Regions from separate parts of the Homo sapiens genome. Here regions 1, 3, 4 and 5 are each linked to region 2. Evidence: promoter capture Hi-C in 16 types of primary human blood cells and fetal thymus (Javierre and others, 2016). All regions are on one chromosome and are shown on one strand. The core of a region is centred on a gene start or on the middle of the fragment in contact, and the rest is flanking DNA. Distances in the headings are between cores, read along the strand shown.

Evidence for each region. Contacts are between HindIII fragments. The CHiCAGO score rates a contact against its expected background, and 5 or more counts as called.
Region 1: a contact is called between the fragment with the promoter of REEP2 here and the fragment with the promoter of PAIP2 in region 2, in 1 of 17 cell types (fetal thymus). The highest score is 6.4, in fetal thymus.
Region 3: a contact is called between the fragment with the promoter of EGR1 here and the fragment with the promoter of PAIP2 in region 2, in 3 of 17 cell types (monocytes, fetal thymus and erythroblasts). The highest score is 10.3, in monocytes.
Region 4: a fragment that was not itself captured here is called in contact with the fragment with the promoter of PAIP2 in region 2 in 1 of 17 cell types (erythroblasts); the score reaches 5.5 in erythroblasts.
Region 5: a contact is called between a fragment that was not itself captured here and the fragment with the promoter of PAIP2 in region 2, in 1 of 17 cell types (monocytes). The highest score is 8.4, in monocytes.

The regions. Positions count from the first base shown.
Region 1 is chr5:138,436,658-138,440,466 of GRCh38, forward strand. It overlaps REEP2 (receptor accessory protein 2), which reads left to right and starts at 2,400. Exons shown (of 8, transcript NM_001271803.2): 1 at 2,400-2,583. The coding sequence starts at 2,552. It overlaps KDM3B (lysine demethylase 3B), which reads left to right. Exons shown (of 24, transcript NM_016604.4): 24 at 1-370. RefSeq lists a silencer at 2,228-2,647 and an enhancer at 3,033-3,566. The HindIII fragment of the contact is 657 bases long and covers 2,005-2,661 here.
Region 2 is chr5:139,340,181-139,343,977 of GRCh38, forward strand. PAIP2 (poly(A) binding protein interacting protein 2) reads left to right here and starts at 1,674. Exons shown (of 4, transcript NM_016480.5): 1 at 1,674-1,800. The HindIII fragment of the contact is 3,993 bases long and covers 1-2,179 here.
Region 3 is chr5:138,463,976-138,467,600 of GRCh38, forward strand. It overlaps EGR1 (early growth response 1), which reads left to right and starts at 1,504. Exons shown (of 2, transcript NM_001964.3): 1 at 1,504-2,093; 2 at 2,782-3,625. The coding sequence starts at 1,787. RefSeq lists silencers at 108-377, 698-1,097, 1,108-1,457, 1,548-1,757 and enhancers at 290-1,489, 562-1,402, 1,403-2,242. The HindIII fragment of the contact is 6,642 bases long and covers 1-3,625 here.
Region 4 is chr5:138,588,876-138,592,830 of GRCh38, forward strand. No RefSeq gene overlaps it. Among named protein-coding and RNA genes, the nearest start is that of HSPA9, 15 kb to the left of the region's middle. The HindIII fragment of the contact is 3,000 bases long and covers 81-3,080 here.
Region 5 is chr5:138,528,353-138,532,207 of GRCh38, forward strand. The region is part of intron 2 of ETF1 (eukaryotic translation termination factor 1); the gene reads right to left. Among named protein-coding and RNA genes, the nearest start is that of ETF1, 13 kb to the right of the region's middle. The HindIII fragment of the contact is 1,994 bases long and covers 1,292-3,285 here.

The DNA.
Region 1 (3,809 bases), core at 1,150-3,649, 900 kb before region 2:
ATTACCAGTGTTCCCTGGGGACTCCTCTTAATGTTTCCAAATGGGAAGGACAGTTGATTTCCAACATGAGGTTTTTTGTTTTTTATCCAGAAATATTTTCAGCAAAACTTTCCAACTGAGTGGAGTCTGATTAAGGATTTATTTGAAAATGGTGGGATTCATTGGCCCATAGGTACATTGGAAAATGTATATCTCTCCAGCTGTACTGTAGTGCCCTGCAGGCTGTTTATATGTTCACAGTTACTTTTTTTTTTTTTTTTAAATAAAAGTCATTTAATGTAGAATACTTTTAATTTCACTTTCTGTATTTTAATTTTGTTGAAGGGCTGATTGGGATTTCCATGTTCTTATTAAAAATCTAACAAATCTGTTTGGAGTGGACTAAATTATTCGTGTACCAACCCTTCTAAAATCAACATCAGATTGGGAGTTGGGTTGGAGGTGGGGGATTCATTTCCAGGTCTTCATGACTGTGCTACACCCAGATATTTTTCTTTGCTTGTTGAGACTGTGCCATGTTAGAAAAAAGGAAAGTGCCAGGGTGAGGTCAGTATGGTTTGGGGAATTGGGGGTAAGGGGAAGGGGCCACATGAATTAGAGGGTAGAAAGAGAGACATGTTTCCCCATACTTTATGCTTTGTGAATGGAGTGGGAAAGTTGGGGTCCTCCCTTCCTGTGGCAGAGTCTGGGGGGAAGGGTCATGGTGTGTGGCCTCAGCAAAGTTGGACAGTCTGTGGTGGGATTCTTAAGCAGGCAGCCTGGCTGCCTACATGAAACGTGTGGCCATAGATCCACCTTAGAGATGGTGGGAGACACTCATGTGGGATTTATCAAGCAGTAATTAAAGTGTTTCATTGTGGGGTGATAACAGACTGCATTCCAATTAGGAGATGTTTTCTGGAGAGGAAGTTGTAAAGAATAGCAAGAGGGGTTATCAGAGGCTGCTTTTCTGGAACGTTTTGGGAAACATCTTCCAAAGTGTTTGAACCTGGAAATATAATTTACCAGGTTAGAAATAGACCATTGTGTTGTTCAGGGATACTGAGCTTGAATAAGACCATGACTCTTTGAAATACACAGTTCTGAATGTGTCCTTTCAGCCCAGATGGGCACAGGTTGATGCTGTGGTCACCCGAAGGATTACAACTCAACATAAAGGGTAGAGGAATGCAGAAGCTCTAAAATGGGACAGGAAAGGAGAGCAATAGGGCTGGGGGTGTTGGTGGATGGTTGGAGGTTGGTTGCTTTCCTGAAGATCAGGAGGCAGGCTAGCCTACATTCTGGATATAAATGTCTTTAGAATCAGGACATTCACTGCCACTAGTGCTTGCTGATGGGGGTGGAACTGGAGCCCCAGGACCCTCTCGCAGCCCCTCTGTTTGAAAAGAAGGTTGACCCTTTGTTGTCAGTAACCACATTGAGAGCATAAAGCTCTGTTCCGCTGCAAAGCTTAGGAGCTGACAACCTAAAAAAGCAGACCAGCAGCCCGGTGGCTCACACCAGTGATCCCAGCACTTTGGGAGGCTGAGGCGGGTGGATCGCTTGAGCTCAGGAGTTGGAGATCAGCCTGGGCAATATTGCAAAACCCCATCTTGGCAAAAAAAAACAAAAAACAAAAAAACAGGAATTAGCTGGTGGTGTTTTGGGCCTGTAGTCCCAGCTACTCGGGAGGCTGAGGCGGGAGGATCATTCAAGCCCAGGAGGTGTGCTGAGATTGTGCCACTGCACTCCAGCCTGAGCGACAGAGTGAGGACCTGTCTCAAAAAAACAAAACATCATCTGGTCAGGGGAGATCCTCTTTCAACGGGGTGAGAAGGAGTGGGGTGGACAGGTGCGGCTGTACCTGTGACTCAGGAGCTCAGGTGGATGTCTTCAGGGCCTGTAATGAGGAGAGTTTGCTAGTCAGCAGTTGGGGGATGTAACCTGTTTAAAGTAGGCTTCCTGGGGTCATCTTAGCAGCATGACTTGGTGGCTTTGTGACTCTCAACAGATTATTGAGCCTTAAGCTTCTCATTCCCTTATCTTCAAAATGAGGGCTTTTATAGCGCCTGCCTTATAGGGTGGTCAAGAGGATTCACTGGCAACGCAGTGAAGCTCTTAGCACAGGGGCTGGCACACAGTAAGCGCCTGGTGTGGGCAGGGCAGGAGGTGGGCAGGGGTCGATTTCAGGATGTAACCATGGAGACCTCCACGACAACAGCCTAGGGCTTGAAACCCAAGAAAGATGAACAAGCGATTCGAGGAAGGCAGGGCACTGAGGGTCGGAGGCGCATGCCCGGCCACAGCAGGTGCCGGGGCGGGGGCGCGCCGCCGCCGCCGCGGCGGCCTCCCGGCCTCCCCTTTAAGAGCCGCCACCGCCCACGGCCCGCCGCTGCGGCAGGGACCTCCCCTTTAACGGCGGCGCTGGGCGCTCCGCTGCCCCCGCGGCGGCTGCTGCAGCGGCTGCTGCTGCTACTGCGGCTCCTGCTGCCGCCGCCGCCGCCGCTCGGCCTCAGGCAGCTGCATCCTCGGCCGGGCCGGGTCCCCGCCCCGCGCCGCGCCCGGCCCCGCCATGGTGTCCTGGATCATCTCTCGCCTGGTGGTGTGAGTGCGGCGGCGGCGGGGGGTGATGCGGGCTGTGATGGAGGGCGGGGGTGTTAAAGCCCGGGTGGACTTCTCCGAAGCTTCGTGCAGCAGAGTCACCTAAAGGCGCTGCGTCCTTATTTGGGGCCCCCAGAGACATGGAGATGTGGCACCCAGGACTGGAGGGGGGAATATTAGGGGAGCGTGGCAGGCCTGGCTTCCCAGGGACCTCACCCACATTCTTTATTAATAACCTCTTTTATTTCTACCGTCCTTGCTCCTGCGCCCATCCTAGAGGCTGAGCAGCACGGCTTGATTTAAAAGGGGAGGCAGGCGCGTCCCCTCCCCCACCTAGCAGGTCTGGGCTGGAGGAGATCCTCAGACCCGGGCCCTGTCCCTCTGGGGGAGGTAACAGGGTGATGGAAGAGAGTGGAGCAAGGCAGGGCCTCATCATCATTCCGCAGCTCAGAGCCATCACCAGGCCCCTTGGTCTCTCCCTTCCACTCACTGTCAGGAGACTGGGGACGAGGGCATATGCCCTTAGGCCCCCTAGGGAGGAAGTCTGGGTATCGGGAAGCAGAAATGCTCGGAGGACAAAGTGTGAGAGGTAACTGGGAGAGGGGATGTGTGTGCTCAGCCTGGGATTGTGGACCCCGCTGGGGGAGGACGCTCCGTGGCCTTCATTCCAGGCTGCCAGCCACACTGTGGAGCTGTGTCTCTGGCACCTCCCCGGGCCCCAGGAGGGAACACACACCATTCCCCACGAGCCCAGACTTTGTCCTTGAGGATTCTGCTCCGCACTCCACTTGCACCAGCCGGTTTGGAAGTATCCCTCCTGTCCATGTGGAAACAGGCGACAGCCACACATTGTCAAGGGGCTGAGCCTGACAGGGGCTCCTCGTGGTTCTCGGAGCTATCCCCTGCCCTAATGAGGACACTGCCCCTCGGCCTCCACCGTTGGGGACTGACACCGGCAGCCCCACCCTGCTCCCTTCTTCCCATTCGGTACAGCCGGGCCGGCCAAGTGCTTCTGTCCTGGTTTACTCTAGACTCCTTCTCTTCCCCCACCCATCCCAGGGGGAATGGAGGGGCCTCACGCCTCCATGTGGCCTTCAGGGTGGCTGCTTCTCTCTTGCCTGGGCAAGCCCCAAAGGGCATCGGTCCTCTTCTTTCCCGGCCTGTGTCTTGTCTGCATTCTGTACTTGGATCACCAGCGGGGCCCTCCCCTGAGCCCTGTCCCTGTGGTG
Region 2 (3,797 bases), core at 424-2,923:
TTGCTTGAGCCAGGGAGGTTGCGGCTGTAGTGAACCGTGATCATGCCACTGCACTCCAGCCTGGGTGATGGAAGACTGTGTCTTAAAAAGAGAGTCTGAGTCATCTCAGACTATATAAATACCTATTTTGTTATGTTCAGACTTCCTTCAGCCTCAGATTGATAGCTTATCTTCACAGTTTAGAATATAGATCTGTAAGTGCTGCCAAGGTGGTTGACCCAGGAGCTAGGGCAGAACCATCTGCATTCATTTCTTTGGGGCTTTGGACTGGCCCAGAAGAGTATTCAGTGAATGAAATAGCTCTGAAGAGGAACAACCCGGTTTCTAAATTCAAGCCTTCCCATGGAGGGAATTTTTTGTCTTAGTAAATACTACAAGCATATAGTTTTTAAAAGATTCAAATTTTTCAGGAGAAAAGGATAGTTATTTGCACCCATTTCCTAGTCGGTCATTTGCCCTCTCCAAAGGGAAGAAATTAGTTTGTGTCCCTTTTTCAAAGATAGTATCTACACATTTGAACATCCAGATTTGTAAAACACATACTCTCGGCCGGGTGCGGTGGCTCACACCTGTAATCCTAGCACTTTGAGAGGCGGAGGCGGGTGGATCACGAGGTCAGGAGATCGAGACCATCCTGGCCAACACGGTGAAACCCCTATCTCTACTAAAAGTACAAAAATTGGCCGGGTGTGCTGGCGTGCGCCTGTAGTCCCAGCTACTTGGGAGGCTGTGGCAGGAGAATCTCTTGAACCCGGGAGGCGGAGGTTGCAGTGAGCCGAGATGGCGCCACTGCACTCCAGCCTGGGCAAGAGAGCCAGACTCCGCCTCAAAAAAACAAAACAAAACAAAAAAACAAAAACATACTCTCTTCTTTACATTGCTTAGTGTCACTAGAAATATATCTTGGGGCTTGTCAACGATGACAGGAAGGAAGCATGGGTAAGAATAACTATGGGGCCAGTGCACCCAGGATCACGGACTACAAAATTCTTGAACCCGGAGGTCACACTTTTCTATCCTGTGTGGACAGGGCATTTCCTCCTTTAGCCACAAAGAAGTTGCACATGTATTTGTATTTTGCGTTTGCATCCAGCTTCAAAAAGTGTGTTTTTGTGCCTGCACATGTCTGAGTGCGGATGTTTGCATATCATTTAGTACGCCTCTGTGATTTCCCTTAGTTTATTATTTTTCTGTGTCAGGATCTTGACGTGACTCGGTGCATGTCGCTGTTTGTGTGACATTGTGTATCATTCTTGGGGTGTGTATGGGTATGTGTGTGCTATGTCATTACCTAAATATTACGTTTTTGGGGGGGTGTGTGATGTCTGTGAAAGTCCACGCCTGTGTATCTTGTCAGGGTGCTCTTCAGTCCCCAGCTGCCTCACTCATTGCATATCATCATTCTCGGAAGATGGGCGGGTGTGGGAACAGTGGTACGCCCCCATTCCTGCCTTCCAGAGAGAACGTGCGACAGCGTTCCTGCTACACCCGGCAGCCGGCCGTAGGGGCGCGCTGGAAAGGCTGCTGCGCGTGCACACGTGTGCAGCCTTGGAGACAGACTTCGGGGTCGCGCGTTCTCGCGCGCGCTCTCTAGTGGCTTCGGAGGGCAGAGCTGACAGAACAAGAGGGCGGGGTTGGCGGCGACGGAAGTGAAGTCACTTCCGGGCTGGGGTGTTTGTTTGGACTGGAGAAGGGAGGCGGCGGGCGAAGCGCACGTCGAGCGGGGGAGCGGCGCTGCCTGTGGAGATCCGCGGAGGCCGACAGGATTCGTTGGCTGCCGTCCCCGCTGCTGTGCATTGGGTGAGGGGTCCTCTCGGGCAGAGTGGCGACAGGGGTGCGGAGGTCGAGGGACAGCAAGTCGGCGACGGCAGAGGGGCCTAAAGGGTTCCCTGGGTGGTTGGCCACCGAGTCCATTGCGGCCTCCGTTGTTCATTGCCTCTTTCCACCAAGTCTGAGGGATGAGCTTGGGCCGACTTCGTCTCTGTCTTCTCCGAGACATGGCCGTCGCTTTTTTTTCATTGTCATTATTAATGATTTGGATCTCGCAGCTCTCTATCCGGGTCCTCAGTGGCGCGAGGGTTGCCGGGATAGCACTTTCTCCTGTTCCTCATTCTCCCGGTCCTTTATCCCTCCGCCGGGTACCCTTTCCCCTGCCCCCCTCCCACCGCCTCGGCAACAAAGCTTATTGTTTCTACCCACTTTACGCCTGCGCGTCGCCACGCGCAGCCCCTACTTGCTGCGCGTGCGCGCCTCAGCCGAGGCTGGGGTTTGGGGAGAGAGGGGCGGAGGGACTGGCGGGCTCTTGGCGTCTTGGGGGAACGCTGCAACCGTCGACGGGCCTGATCAGAAGATCGTCTTTCTCCCGTTTCTTCGCCATCGCTACCCCTTATTTTTGGTTGTATTGCAGCTCATGCCCTGGAAAAAAGAACCTTTGGGGTACTGGGAACCCTTACCCTAGGAGGGCGTTGAGTTAGATGAACTTTAAGGTCCTCTTACCTTTTAATAATTTTCTGTGCTTACTCTCCTCCTTCCCCACCATCGCCACCAGAAATAAATAAGGCTTGTGGTGAACTTAGGTCTTCAAAACATTTGTTGCAGCAGCCAGCAGTGATATTTTTTAGGGACTCCTAAAAGGGGTCTTACCTGCTTCCTTTTGTTTCTTTTTTCCCTGATTTGGCACCCGTATCAACTCATAAAAACCCCAAACTCTAGAAAGAATTTGGCTTCCAATTTGCCTTGGAAGGTGTAGCAGCTGACAGCCTTTGACGTTTATTTCAACGGAAAGTAGATGTTCATGTTGGGTGTGCTGGCTAATGTTGAAACGTGGTGGCATTGTTTTTTCACAGATTTCATTAGCACAGTTAGATCAGGTGTTGGTTTATATTTTCATTAAGTCGCTTTTGAAATTTCTTCTGGCGTAGGTTGTGTTTGCAATAAGTAAAAGTTCTCTACAATAATTTTTAATGAGACTCCACTATTTGCTTTTGTGATTCTGTTTCCAGTTAGTGAAAGACAGGATATTTGGGGAAAATTAGTCTGTTTATACTACTTGTCAGTTGTGAACTTGAATAAAACTTTTTCACACACACACAAAATCACAGGATAGGTAACTTGACAAGAACTATAGAACCCACTTGTGTTTCTTTAAGGGATGGAGGTTAGGGAATGGAGATTTCCTCTAATGATTCAAGGCTGTGCACGTTGCTCCTTAGGAACTCAAATTGAGGTAGGTAATTTCACCCTCTTTTGGTCAGAATGAGTTTATAGCAGGCTTTTCCTTAAATAAGCACTCTGCACTTTATTCAGGTTTATCACTTTATGACTCTAGAGTGTGATGCTCCAGTTTTAGTGAAAAACTTGAACACTTAGCACAGCAATTTGGTTGATACTGTGGGAGATTAAAGAATGTGGAAGGCAAGACCTCTGCCCCCTTGTAATCTAATAACCTTTTGTGCTTTTAAAACATTTTCTTGTAATTTACATCCTATTGTCATTCATTATCATGAAACGTGAAATGGGCAGAGCAAGTTTTTTTTTTTTTTTTTTTTTGAGATGGAGTCTCACTCTGTCGCCAGGCTGGAGTGCTGGAGTGCAGTGGCGCAATTGGCTCACTGCAACCTCCGCCTCCCCGGGTTCAAGCGATTCTCCTGCCTCCGCCTCCCTAGTAGCTGGGACTACAGGCGCTTGCCACCACGCCGGCTAATTTTTTGTATTTTTAGTAGAGACAGGGTTTCACCGTGTTAGCCAGGATGGTCTCGATCTCCTGACTTTGTGATCCGCCCCCGTCGGCCTCCCAA
Region 3 (3,625 bases), core at 254-2,753, 880 kb before region 2:
ACCTGCGGGAATCGTTCTCCCTCGCCACCACCCACCCCCTGCTTCCTTCTCCCCCTCGCCTTGGCCAGGCTCGGGGTGAGGAGTGTTATCCCGGAGTCTGGGCGCCTCGGCAGTGACGGCTCCCCAGGGACTGCAGGGGGAGCCCGGGCTGCAGCGCCTGCTCAGTTCGTGCTCACTGCGTCGAAGGCTCCCCCGGCCTGGCTCCGCGCCCAGCGCCGCATCCGGGAGGAGGAGCGAGGAGGCGGCGGAAGAGCCCGCGCGGCCGGAGTCCGGGGCTGGGAGTGGAGAGGGAACCTCCAGGGGGCAGCACCGAGCCGCCAAGCCGGTCCTCTCTTCGCGCCCAGCCCGGGGTCCCCAGACAGCCCATAGGGAAGCCCCTCTTTCGGATTCCCGCAGTGTGGGCCGGCCCTCCACCTGGACTGGATAAAGGGGGGAAAGTGACCCCTCACCACAAGGACCATTATCTCCTGGTGAGAACAAGAATCAGGCCTCTCTTGGGGCAATCAGCTTCCCCACTTCGGTCCCCCAAAGGTGGGCTCTTTGCCGGCGGGGACTAGGGAACAGCCTTTCGGTTCCGGGGGAGCACAGGGGACCCCAGGCACCAGCAGCCCCATCCCACCGACAGGTGGCAGAGGCAAGGCAGCTCACTGCTATACAGTGTCCCAAGAACCAAGTGGCCGTGACTTCCTATCCTCAATTTCCCAGCGACACCCGGAAAGACACCGTGCCATAGATCGAGGCCCGGGGTCAAGGCCCCGCCTCTCCTGGGCGGCCCCTGCCCAGGCGGGCCCAGCCGCTCCTCCCCCGCACTCCCGGTTCGCTCTCACGGTCCCTGAGGTGGGCGGGCGGGCCCTGGATGACAGCGATAGAACCCCGGCCCGACTCGCCCTCGCCCCCGCTCTGGGTCTGGGCTTCCCCAGCCTAGTTCACGCCTAGGAGCCGCCTGAGCAGCCGCGCGCCCAGCGCCACACGCCACGAGCCCTCCCCGCCTGGGCGTCCCCGGATCCCGCGAGCGCTCGGGCTCCCGGCTTGGAACCAGGGAGGAGGGAGGGAGCGAGGGAGCAACCAGCTGCGACCCGGAAATGCCATATAAGGAGCAGGAAGGATCCCCCGCCGGAACAACCCTTATTTGGGCAGCACCTTATTTGGAGTGGCCCGATATGGCCCGGCCGCTTCCGGCTCTGGGAGGAGGGAAGAAGGCGGAGGGAGGGGCAACGCGGGAACTCCGGAGCTGCGCGGGTCCCGGAGGCCCCGGCGGCGGCTAGAGCTCTAGGCTTCCCCGAAGCCTGGGCGCCTGGGATGCGGGCGCGGGCGCGGGCCCTAGGGTGCAGGATGGAGGTGCCGGGCGCTGTCGGATGGGGGGCTTCACGTCACTCCGGGTCCTCCCGGCCGGTCCTGCCATATTAGGGCTTCCTGCTTCCCATATATGGCCATGTACGTCACGACGGAGGCGGACCCGTGCCGTTCCAGACCCTTCAAATAGAGGCGGATCCGGGGAGTCGCGAGAGATCCCAGCGCGCAGAACTTGGGGAGCCGCCGCCGCCATCCGCCGCCGCAGCCAGCTTCCGCCGCCGCAGGACCGGCCCCTGCCCCAGCCTCCGCAGCCGCGGCGCGTCCACGCCCGCCCGCGCCCAGGGCGAGTCGGGGTCGCCGCCTGCACGCTTCTCAGTGTTCCCCGCGCCCCGCATGTAACCCGGCCAGGCCCCCGCAACTGTGTCCCCTGCAGCTCCAGCCCCGGGCTGCACCCCCCCGCCCCGACACCAGCTCTCCAGCCTGCTCGTCCAGGATGGCCGCGGCCAAGGCCGAGATGCAGCTGATGTCCCCGCTGCAGATCTCTGACCCGTTCGGATCCTTTCCTCACTCGCCCACCATGGACAACTACCCTAAGCTGGAGGAGATGATGCTGCTGAGCAACGGGGCTCCCCAGTTCCTCGGCGCCGCCGGGGCCCCAGAGGGCAGCGGCAGCAACAGCAGCAGCAGCAGCAGCGGGGGCGGTGGAGGCGGCGGGGGCGGCAGCAACAGCAGCAGCAGCAGCAGCACCTTCAACCCTCAGGCGGACACGGGCGAGCAGCCCTACGAGCACCTGACCGCAGGTAAGCAGTGGCCTACGCCGAGGGGGAACCCTTTCGCCACCATCCTGGCGTCCTGTCCTTCACCGCAGGAGTGCTCCTGGATCTTAGAATGAGAGCCGGGTTTCCCTTTCATTCCTCGCATCCCCAGAGTCATGTGTTAGAGGGATGCCAAGGAACCCCACACAGCCCACCCCCTGCCCTCATCCCTAGCGGAGCGCAGAGGACCGAGCTTTTGTTTTGGATGGAGAGCTCTGGAGCTGCGTGGGTGGGTGGAGGGGGAGGGCTTGTTTTGATGAGCGGGGCTGCGCCCCCCACCTCCAGTAAGACTTGCCTTGCCTTGCTTGCCGCCTGTCCCCAAGGAAGGACCGTGATCCTTGGCCGTGGATGTCCCGGCAGCCCGGGTTTGGGGGCGCGCACTAGCCGCGGCCATGGGGGTGCTGGCGGGAATCCCTCGCCCGCACAGCCGCCGCTGCGGAGCGCTGCGAGCTGCAGTGGAGGGGGATTCTCCGTATTTGCGTCAGCTGTTGTTGAAATGGGCTCTGCCACTGGTGCGGGTCCAGGAACATTGCAATGTGCTGCTATCAATTATTAACTACCTCGGGAGTCAATGGTAGCCGGCCCGGTCTCTTGCCTGGCAGCTCGGGTCGTCCTCGTCCTCCAGTGATTGCTTTCCAGTAACCAGGCCTCCCGCTTCTCTCTCTCCTGCCAGAGTCTTTTCCTGACATCTCTCTGAACAACGAGAAGGTGCTGGTGGAGACCAGTTACCCCAGCCAAACCACTCGACTGCCCCCCATCACCTATACTGGCCGCTTTTCCCTGGAGCCTGCACCCAACAGTGGCAACACCTTGTGGCCCGAGCCCCTCTTCAGCTTGGTCAGTGGCCTAGTGAGCATGACCAACCCACCGGCCTCCTCGTCCTCAGCACCATCTCCAGCGGCCTCCTCCGCCTCCGCCTCCCAGAGCCCACCCCTGAGCTGCGCAGTGCCATCCAACGACAGCAGTCCCATTTACTCAGCGGCACCCACCTTCCCCACGCCGAACACTGACATTTTCCCTGAGCCACAAAGCCAGGCCTTCCCGGGCTCGGCAGGGACAGCGCTCCAGTACCCGCCTCCTGCCTACCCTGCCGCCAAGGGTGGCTTCCAGGTTCCCATGATCCCCGACTACCTGTTTCCACAGCAGCAGGGGGATCTGGGCCTGGGCACCCCAGACCAGAAGCCCTTCCAGGGCCTGGAGAGCCGCACCCAGCAGCCTTCGCTAACCCCTCTGTCTACTATTAAGGCCTTTGCCACTCAGTCGGGCTCCCAGGACCTGAAGGCCCTCAATACCAGCTACCAGTCCCAGCTCATCAAACCCAGCCGCATGCGCAAGTACCCCAACCGGCCCAGCAAGACGCCCCCCCACGAACGCCCTTACGCTTGCCCAGTGGAGTCCTGTGATCGCCGCTTCTCCCGCTCCGACGAGCTCACCCGCCACATCCGCATCCACACAGGCCAGAAGCCCTTCCAGTGCCGCATCTGCATGCGCAACTTCAGCCGCAGCGACCACCTCAC
Region 4 (3,955 bases), core at 331-2,830, 750 kb before region 2:
AAATAAAGGTAAACTCCAATTACATGCTCTGATCCCATCTGACTGTTGGGAAAGTTAATCTAGCTTATTTCTTGTCTTCAAGCTTGCGTTATGGTTCCAAGATCTTATATTTTGGATGAGATTGGAGGGAGCTTTGAGTTGTCCCATCATTTGTACCATCACTTGAGGCCCAGGTACTGACAGCCTGCTCTTCATCCTTGCCTCATCCTCTGGCCTGGGGTCCTATCTCCTAGATATACCATGAGGCCAGGCCTCTCTAGGGTCTTGCTCCCTTCTTAGGTGCTGTCATGCCAGGGATCAAGGCCTGGGTTCCCTTGTTCCAGGACCTACAAACATTCTCATTCCTGACCCCAAAGCATCTCTTTCTAGTCTGCTTGAAGTACCTTCCTGCATCATGCTGCTCTGAGGCCAATTTCCTTAAGTTCTAGGCTCTGTCTTGTTCTTCTACAGTGGTCTTTGATGGTCTTTTTATTTTTTACTTTTATTTTTATTTATTTTTGAGAGACAGTGTCTCACTCTATCACCCAGGCTGGAGTGCGGTAGCATGATCACAGTTCACTGCAGCCTTAACCTCCTGGGCTCAGGTGATCCCCCTGCCTCAGCCTGCCAAGTAGTTAGGATTACAGGCATGTACTACAATGGTTGGCTAATTAAAAAAACTTTTTGTAGGCTGGGTGCGGTGGTTCACACCTGTAATCCCAGCACTTTGGGAGGCGGAGGCAGGCAGATCACTTGAGGCCAGGAGTTTGAGACCAGCCTGGCCAACATGGCGAAACCCCGTCTCTACTAAAAATACAAAAAAAAAAAAAAAAAAAAAAAGCTGGATGTGACAGCGCCATGCCTGTAGTGCCAGCTACTTGGGAGGCTGAGGCAGGGGAATCGCTTGAACCTGGGAGGCGGAGGCTGCAGTGAGCAGAGATTGCACCACTACACTCCAGCCTTGGCGACAGAGTGAGGCCCTGTCTCAGAAAATTCTTTTTTTTTTTTTTTTTTGTAGAGACAGGGACTCACTCTGTCTGTCACCCAGGCTGGTCTCCAACTCCTGGGCTCAAGTGATCCTCCTGCCTTGGCCTGCCAAAGTGCTGGGATTATAGGTGTGGGCCACTGCACCTGGCCTTTTGATGGCCTTTTAAATCCCAAACCCATGTCACTGCAGCCATGTATTGGTTATGGTTTACCTTTTGGTGCATGTTTCTACTTTCCTCATTTAGATTTGTGAACCTTCTCGGGGCAGAGACTACCACTTTCTTGTATCCTGAGTCACCACAGGGCTTTTCATAGTGTGGGGGGCACTTATTAAATATTGATTAATTATGATAATGACGAGGACACAGGACTGTTTGTGAGCACACACAGCCCTGCCACACAGTGAGAATCAGGAAGATGAAGGGAAGAAGGGGCCAGGTTCATTATTGTCATATAATCATGAATATTTCACTGGTTTGTATCACCAAGGAGTAGCCTGTTTGTCCTGCTGCCAGCACAGGAGGAAGCATTTGCCCTGATAATGATGAACAAATTTCCTTGATCGAGTCCATGGGCCAGAGCTCCTCTGGGTGCTGGTCAGGCTGGCTTTGCCCTTCTTTGGCTTCTTCACAGGCTGTCTTGCCCGGCTCTCAACAATAGATTTCTCTGTCACGAATACAAACTAGCCAGGCCCTCTTGAACAAATCAACCTCCCCGACACCTGCTCAGAGCAATTAGCCTTCCAATGTGCTATGGTTAATAAACACGAATGGTTGTTATCTGCTTTTCCTTGGCTGGTCCTATGAGTGTCCTCACACAAATAGGCAGTTTGACCAGAGACCAGCTCCAACTCATACTTGGGTCAGAGAAATGGAACCCGGAACCCTCCTGCCTCAGCCTTCGGGGCTTCATGGATACTCCCTTACCTCAGCCTGCTGTGACCTCATGCCAGCCCCTCTCTGGCCTCCATTTGGATTCATCTGGTGATAAAAAATGAGCAGAGGAGATACCAGTATCATCTGGGTGGTGGGACTAGATGACCTTTAAATCCTGTGACTGCCCATCCTGCAAGTCTTTGATTCTATACTTTCCACTTGCTTGGTTTTTTTTGGAGACGGAGTCTCACTCTGTGGCCCATGCTGGAGTGCAGTGGTGCGATCTTGGCTTGCTGCAACCTCTGCTTCCCGGGTTCAAGCAATTCTCCTGTCTCAGCCTCCAGAGTAGCTGGGACTACAGGAGCTGGCCACCACGCCCATCTAATTTTTGTATTTTTAGTAGAGACAGGGTTTCGCCATGTTGGCCAGGCTGGTCTCGAATTCCTGACCTCAGGTGTTCTGCCCACCTCAGCCTCCCAAAGTGCTGAGATTACAGGCATGAGCCACTGCTCCTGGCCCACTTGCTTGTTCTTAATCAACATTTAAAATCCCCCAAAGGCCGGGAGCGGTGGCTCATGCCTGTAATCCCAGCACTTCAGGAGGCTGAGGAGGGCAGATCACCTGAGGTCAGGAGTTCGAGCCTGGCCAACATGGTAAAACCCCATCTCTACTAAAAATACAAAAATTAGCCGGGCGCGGTGGCACTCGCCTGTAATCTCAGCTACGTGGGAGGCTGAGGTAGGAGAATCGCTTAAACCTGGGAGGCGGAGGTTGCAGTGAGCCGAGATGGTGCCATTGCACTCCAGCCTGGGTGACAAGAGTGAAACTCTGTCTCAAAAAAAAAAAAACAAAAAAAAACCCAGAGTTGGGTGTGGTGGTGCACACCTGTAGTGCTGAGAAGAGGATCACTGGAGCCCAGGAGTTCAAGGCTGTAGTGTGCAATGATGGTGTGCCTGTGAATAGCCACCACACTCCAGCCTGGGTGACATAGTGAGATCCATTCTCTTAAAAAAGAAAAAAATCTCCCAGCTTCCTGCTGGTCCCTTCAACCTCCTTATATCGGCAACCCTTCCTTGATAGATTCACTGCAGCAACACGGGCCTTCTTTCGGGTCCTTGAAGTGTTGCTTCTGCACTTCCATAGGCCCTCACTTCTCCCTAGATCACTTTCTCCCCACCAGCCAGTTGTCTAACCCTATTTAGCCTTCAGGTCCCAACATAAATGTCACTTGTATAGGCAAGCTTCTCCAGCCCCCAGAATAGATTAGATTCCTAAGGCCTAGGCCAGTCCTGCATATTATCTTCCACAGCACTGTCTACACCTATAATACTTTTTTTTGTTTTTTGAGATGGAGTCTCACTCTGTCGCCCAGGCTGGAGTGCAGTGGTGCAATCTCGGCTCACTGCAGCCTCTGCTTTCCAGGTTCAAGTGATTCTCCTGCCTCAGTCTCCTGAGTAGCTGGGATTACAGGCACCTGCCACCATGCTCAGCTAATTTTTGTATTTTTAGTAGAGACGGGGTTTTGCCACGTTGGGCATGGTGGTCTCAAACTCCTGACCTCAGGTGATCTGCCCACCTTGGCTCCCAAAGTGTTGGGATTACAGGCGTAAGCCACTGTGCCTGGCCTATAAGCTACTTTTTAGTAAAAAATTATTTAGTATTTATCTTCTCTAGTGTTTTGATTCTTCATGTATGCAGGGACTATGTCTGTTTTGTTCAAATTTTTATTGCCAAAACCTGGCCCAACATCTGACACCTAGGAGCTGTTCAGTAAACATTCATCGATTGGCCGCCTGCTTGCCATCTCAATCATGAAGTTGCCCTGCTGTTCATTCATGTATTGGTTTAATGTTGTTTCTCTATTGTTTATATGTTTATGCTTGTCTGTTTAATGTTAACTGTCTTAAGTAGTACATTTCTAAGGGGCTAGAATCCATGTATAGAATTTTCTTTGTATGGTGTTTTGTATGTGGGTGTAAGCGTATGTATCTCATTCCCCAACTGTAGGGAAAGAATGAGGAGGTATTGAGAGGCCGAGGCAGGCAGATCACCTGAGGTCAGGAGTTCGAGACCAGCCTGGCCAACATGGTGAAACCCCGTCTCTACTAAAAATA
Region 5 (3,855 bases), core at 1,039-3,538, 810 kb before region 2:
AGATAAGCAGCTACTTACTTTCCACTGCTGATAGTTTAAGAAGATAAACATTCATTAAGCAACCCTACTGTATAGCCCAGTTGGGCAACCTTACATTCCATATCCATGTAACATTCCAGAGGACCAAGGAGCAAATACACCTAAGAATGTAATCTTGTTATAGGATTCCACTTTAAAAAATGGCTCAAAAGTGTAGCTTGCCTAAGAATTGTTTTTTGTTTGGTAGATTTCTACAAAGTTGATAAATGAAACAAAACTTGAAACTTGGTCTTGGCTTCTTATTCCTTTTGAATTAGGTGCAAAAAATTACCTTTCACTAGTTTCCCTGCATGCCCCCTCCCCCTACCTTCTATGGGGGAAACATTAAGTTTCTGAATTTACCTTTAAAATAAGACACCTGACTAGGGAGGGGAAATGCAGATTATTAAATGGATGGCTTTCACTTTAAAAATTTAAAGGGTACTTTAATAACTTCTGATGTTTTGTATGTTAGGTTTAATACAAGCAGACTGGGCCAGGCATGGTGGCTCATGTCTGTAATCCCAGGACTTTGGGAAGCCGAGACAGGTGGATCACCTGTGGTCAGGAGTTTGAGACCAGCCTGGCCAACATGAGGAAACCCATCTCTACTAAAAATACAAAAACTAGCTGGGCGTGGTAGTGCATGCTTGTAATCCCAGCAGGAGAATCGGCTTGAGCCTGGGAGGCAGAGGTTGCAGTGAGCCAAGATCCCGCCATTGCACTACAGCCTGGGTGACAGAGCGAGACTCCATCTCAAAAAACAAAAACAAAACCAACAAAAACCAAAACCAAACAAACAAACAAACAAAAAAAACAAGCAGATTAACGTTTTTCCAGTAAAGTTTCCAAACAAGATAAACATTCATTTACCCTCACTCCTGCAAGTCAATCAAAGTTGTTAGACCAGTTTGTGTAAACACCCAAAATAAAATTAAGGAAGCTGAATACTTCCATGTCTTTTAAAGTGAACACCCTTCAGGGGAAAATGAAAAATAAAGCTCTCACTAAGGAGATGCTGGCTACACAGGCAAACTACAACCTTCTTTAACTGTAATAGTTTTCCTTCGTTTTTCTACTATCCCTATACTCCTCTTCCGAAATCAAAGAACTAGTGAATCATGGGGTACAGCAATGTGTCACATGCAGGTTGTAAAAACTGGGCAAAACAAGAGACAACATACAGCAATGTATCCCTCAAAGCTCCCAGGGGCCTCTGCACTCAGATTCTCTTCTTGTTCTCATTGGTTTTAGGGGCACTTTGGCTTATCAAAGCTTTCATCAATGCTTCGCCCAGAGGGTTAACGTCTGAAAAATCAAACAGGTGAAAAAAAGGAATTGTAACAGAACTAAACCAAATAAATCCCAAACAAAACTCAAGTAGAAAGATAATTTTTTTAGAGATGGGGTCTTGCTCTGTCACCCAGACTGGAGTGCAGTGGCACAATCACAGCTCACTGTAACCTGGAAACTCCTGGGTTCAAGTGATCCTCCCACCCTAGCCTGGGACTACAGGTACGCACCACCACGCTCAGCTAATTTTTCTTTTTATTTTCGAGATAGGATCTCACAAGGCTGCCCAGGCTGGTCACGAACTCTTGGGCCCAAACACTCCTCCCACCTCAGACTCACTGAGCAGCTAAGGTTATAGGCGCAAGCGACCGTGCCCGCCTGACCCACAAGGATCTTAATCAATGTTCACCATCATCAACAATGCTCAAGAACACTTCAGTTTGCATACCTCCCAGCCCTGAATCCTTTTAGAGCTTTCTAAAGAAGCAAAATAAAAGAATACATGCTCAGACACAAAAGATCCCTTCTTCCTCCATCCTGACTCAATAGTTTCTGAATAGGGAGAGTGAGGGTGGTGATGATTTTGGTTGAGACAGTCTCAATTTTGAAATATGAAAGATTTTTTTTTTCTCTGAGACAGAGTCTCGCTCTGCCACCCAGGCTACAGTGCAGTGGTGTGATCTCGGCTCACTGCAGCTTCTGCCTGCTGGATTCAAGTGATTCTTCTGCCTCAGCCTCCCAAGTAGCTGGGATACAGGCGCCCACTACCACGCCCAGCTAATTGTTGTATTTTTAGTAGTGATGGGGTTTTGCCATGTTGGCCAGGCTGGTCTCGAACCCCTGATCTCAAATTATCCACCCACCTCAGTCTCCCAAAGTGTTGGGATTACAGGCTTTAGCCACCGCACCCAGCTGATTCTTTTCTTTGAGACAGAGTCTCACTCTTGTCTCCTAGGCTGGAGTGCAGTGGCGCCATCTCTGATCTTTGCAACCTCTGCCTCCCCAGTTCAAGCAATTCTCCTGCCTCAGCCTCCCAAGTAGCTAGGGTTACAGGCACGCGCCACAATGCCTGGCTATTTTTAGTAGAGGCAGGGTTTCACCATGTTGGCCAGGCTGGTCTCGAACTCCTGACCTCAAGTGATCTGTCTGCCTTGGCCTCCCAAAGAATTGGGATTACAGGTGTGAGCGACTGTGCCCGGCCTCAAATACGCAAGATTCTAATGCAGAACTAGGGTTGAGAATCACTGCATCTGGCTTGCTTTCTTCACAGGGTCATCTCTAGGTCTGCTGAAGGTAACAAGCCTCCACAACCTCACCTCCACCCAAAGAAGAAGAACCCAGAGCAGTTGCTTGCTGCATTTACCCTATGCTATGGTTTGAAGGTGTCCCCCCAAATTCATGTGTTGGAAACTTAATCCCCACTGCAATAGTATTGAAAGGTGGGGCATATGGAATGTGTTTAGGTTATGAGGGCTCTGCCCTCATGAATAGATTCATGCTGCTATTTAAAATAAGGTGCTTATAAGACCTGAGAGCTACAGTCACACGCGCACACAAAAAAGATAAAATAAGGTGCTTATAAGTAGTGGGCCATCTCTCTTTTGTTCTCTTGCCATGAGAGGAACAGTGTTCCTCCCCAACAAAGGATGCAGCGTTCAAGGTGCCATCTTAAAAGCAGAGAGCAGGCCCTTACCAGAACACCAATCTGTGGTATTCTGTTATAGCAGCACAAAAACAAAAATCAAAAAACCCCCAAAACCTAAGACAACCTAGCTATAATACAACCATAATGAATTGTGACAGCTCAGAGATACTCAACTTTACCAGCCCGAACACTCACTCCCCCTCAAGTACTCTGCCATCCAAGTCATCACTTGTAAATCACGTTAACTACTTTCAGGTTAGGACCAGGAACGTTTTAGACACTGCTTACTATACTCCCTAACCGGGATGTACAGTACATGCTCCCCAAGAAGCTTTCATCCCAGGGTTTGATGGCTGGGTTGTGCCTAGGCTATGGATGGCCAAATTTTTCACCACTTCCCTTTTCAAGCTCCCATCTGTGCCTGCCTCACAAAGCTCAATTTAAATCTCAGCCAGAGGCCAGGTGCAGTGGTTCACACCTGTAATCCCAGCACTTTGGGAGGCCAAGGTGGGCGGATCACGAGGTCAGGAGATTGAGATCACCCTGGCTAACAGGGTGAAACCCCATCTCTACTAAAAATGCAAAAAAATTAGCCGGGCGTGGTGGCGGGCGCCTATAGTCCCAGCTACCTGGGAGGCTGAGGCAGGAGAATGGTGTGAACCGGGAGGCGGAGCTTGCAGTGAGCCGAGATCGAGCCACTGCACTCCAACTTGGGCGACAGAGCGAGACTCCGCCTCAAAAAAATAAAATAAAATAAATAAATAAATAAATCTCAGCCAGATCATTTCTGGGAAAGTCACTAAGCCAGCAGTATTACATGGATCACCACCTGAAAATCAATCAGTTCCTCTTCAATTTCTACTCCATTTCCAAAACTGTCATTGTTTTATTCACTGTGT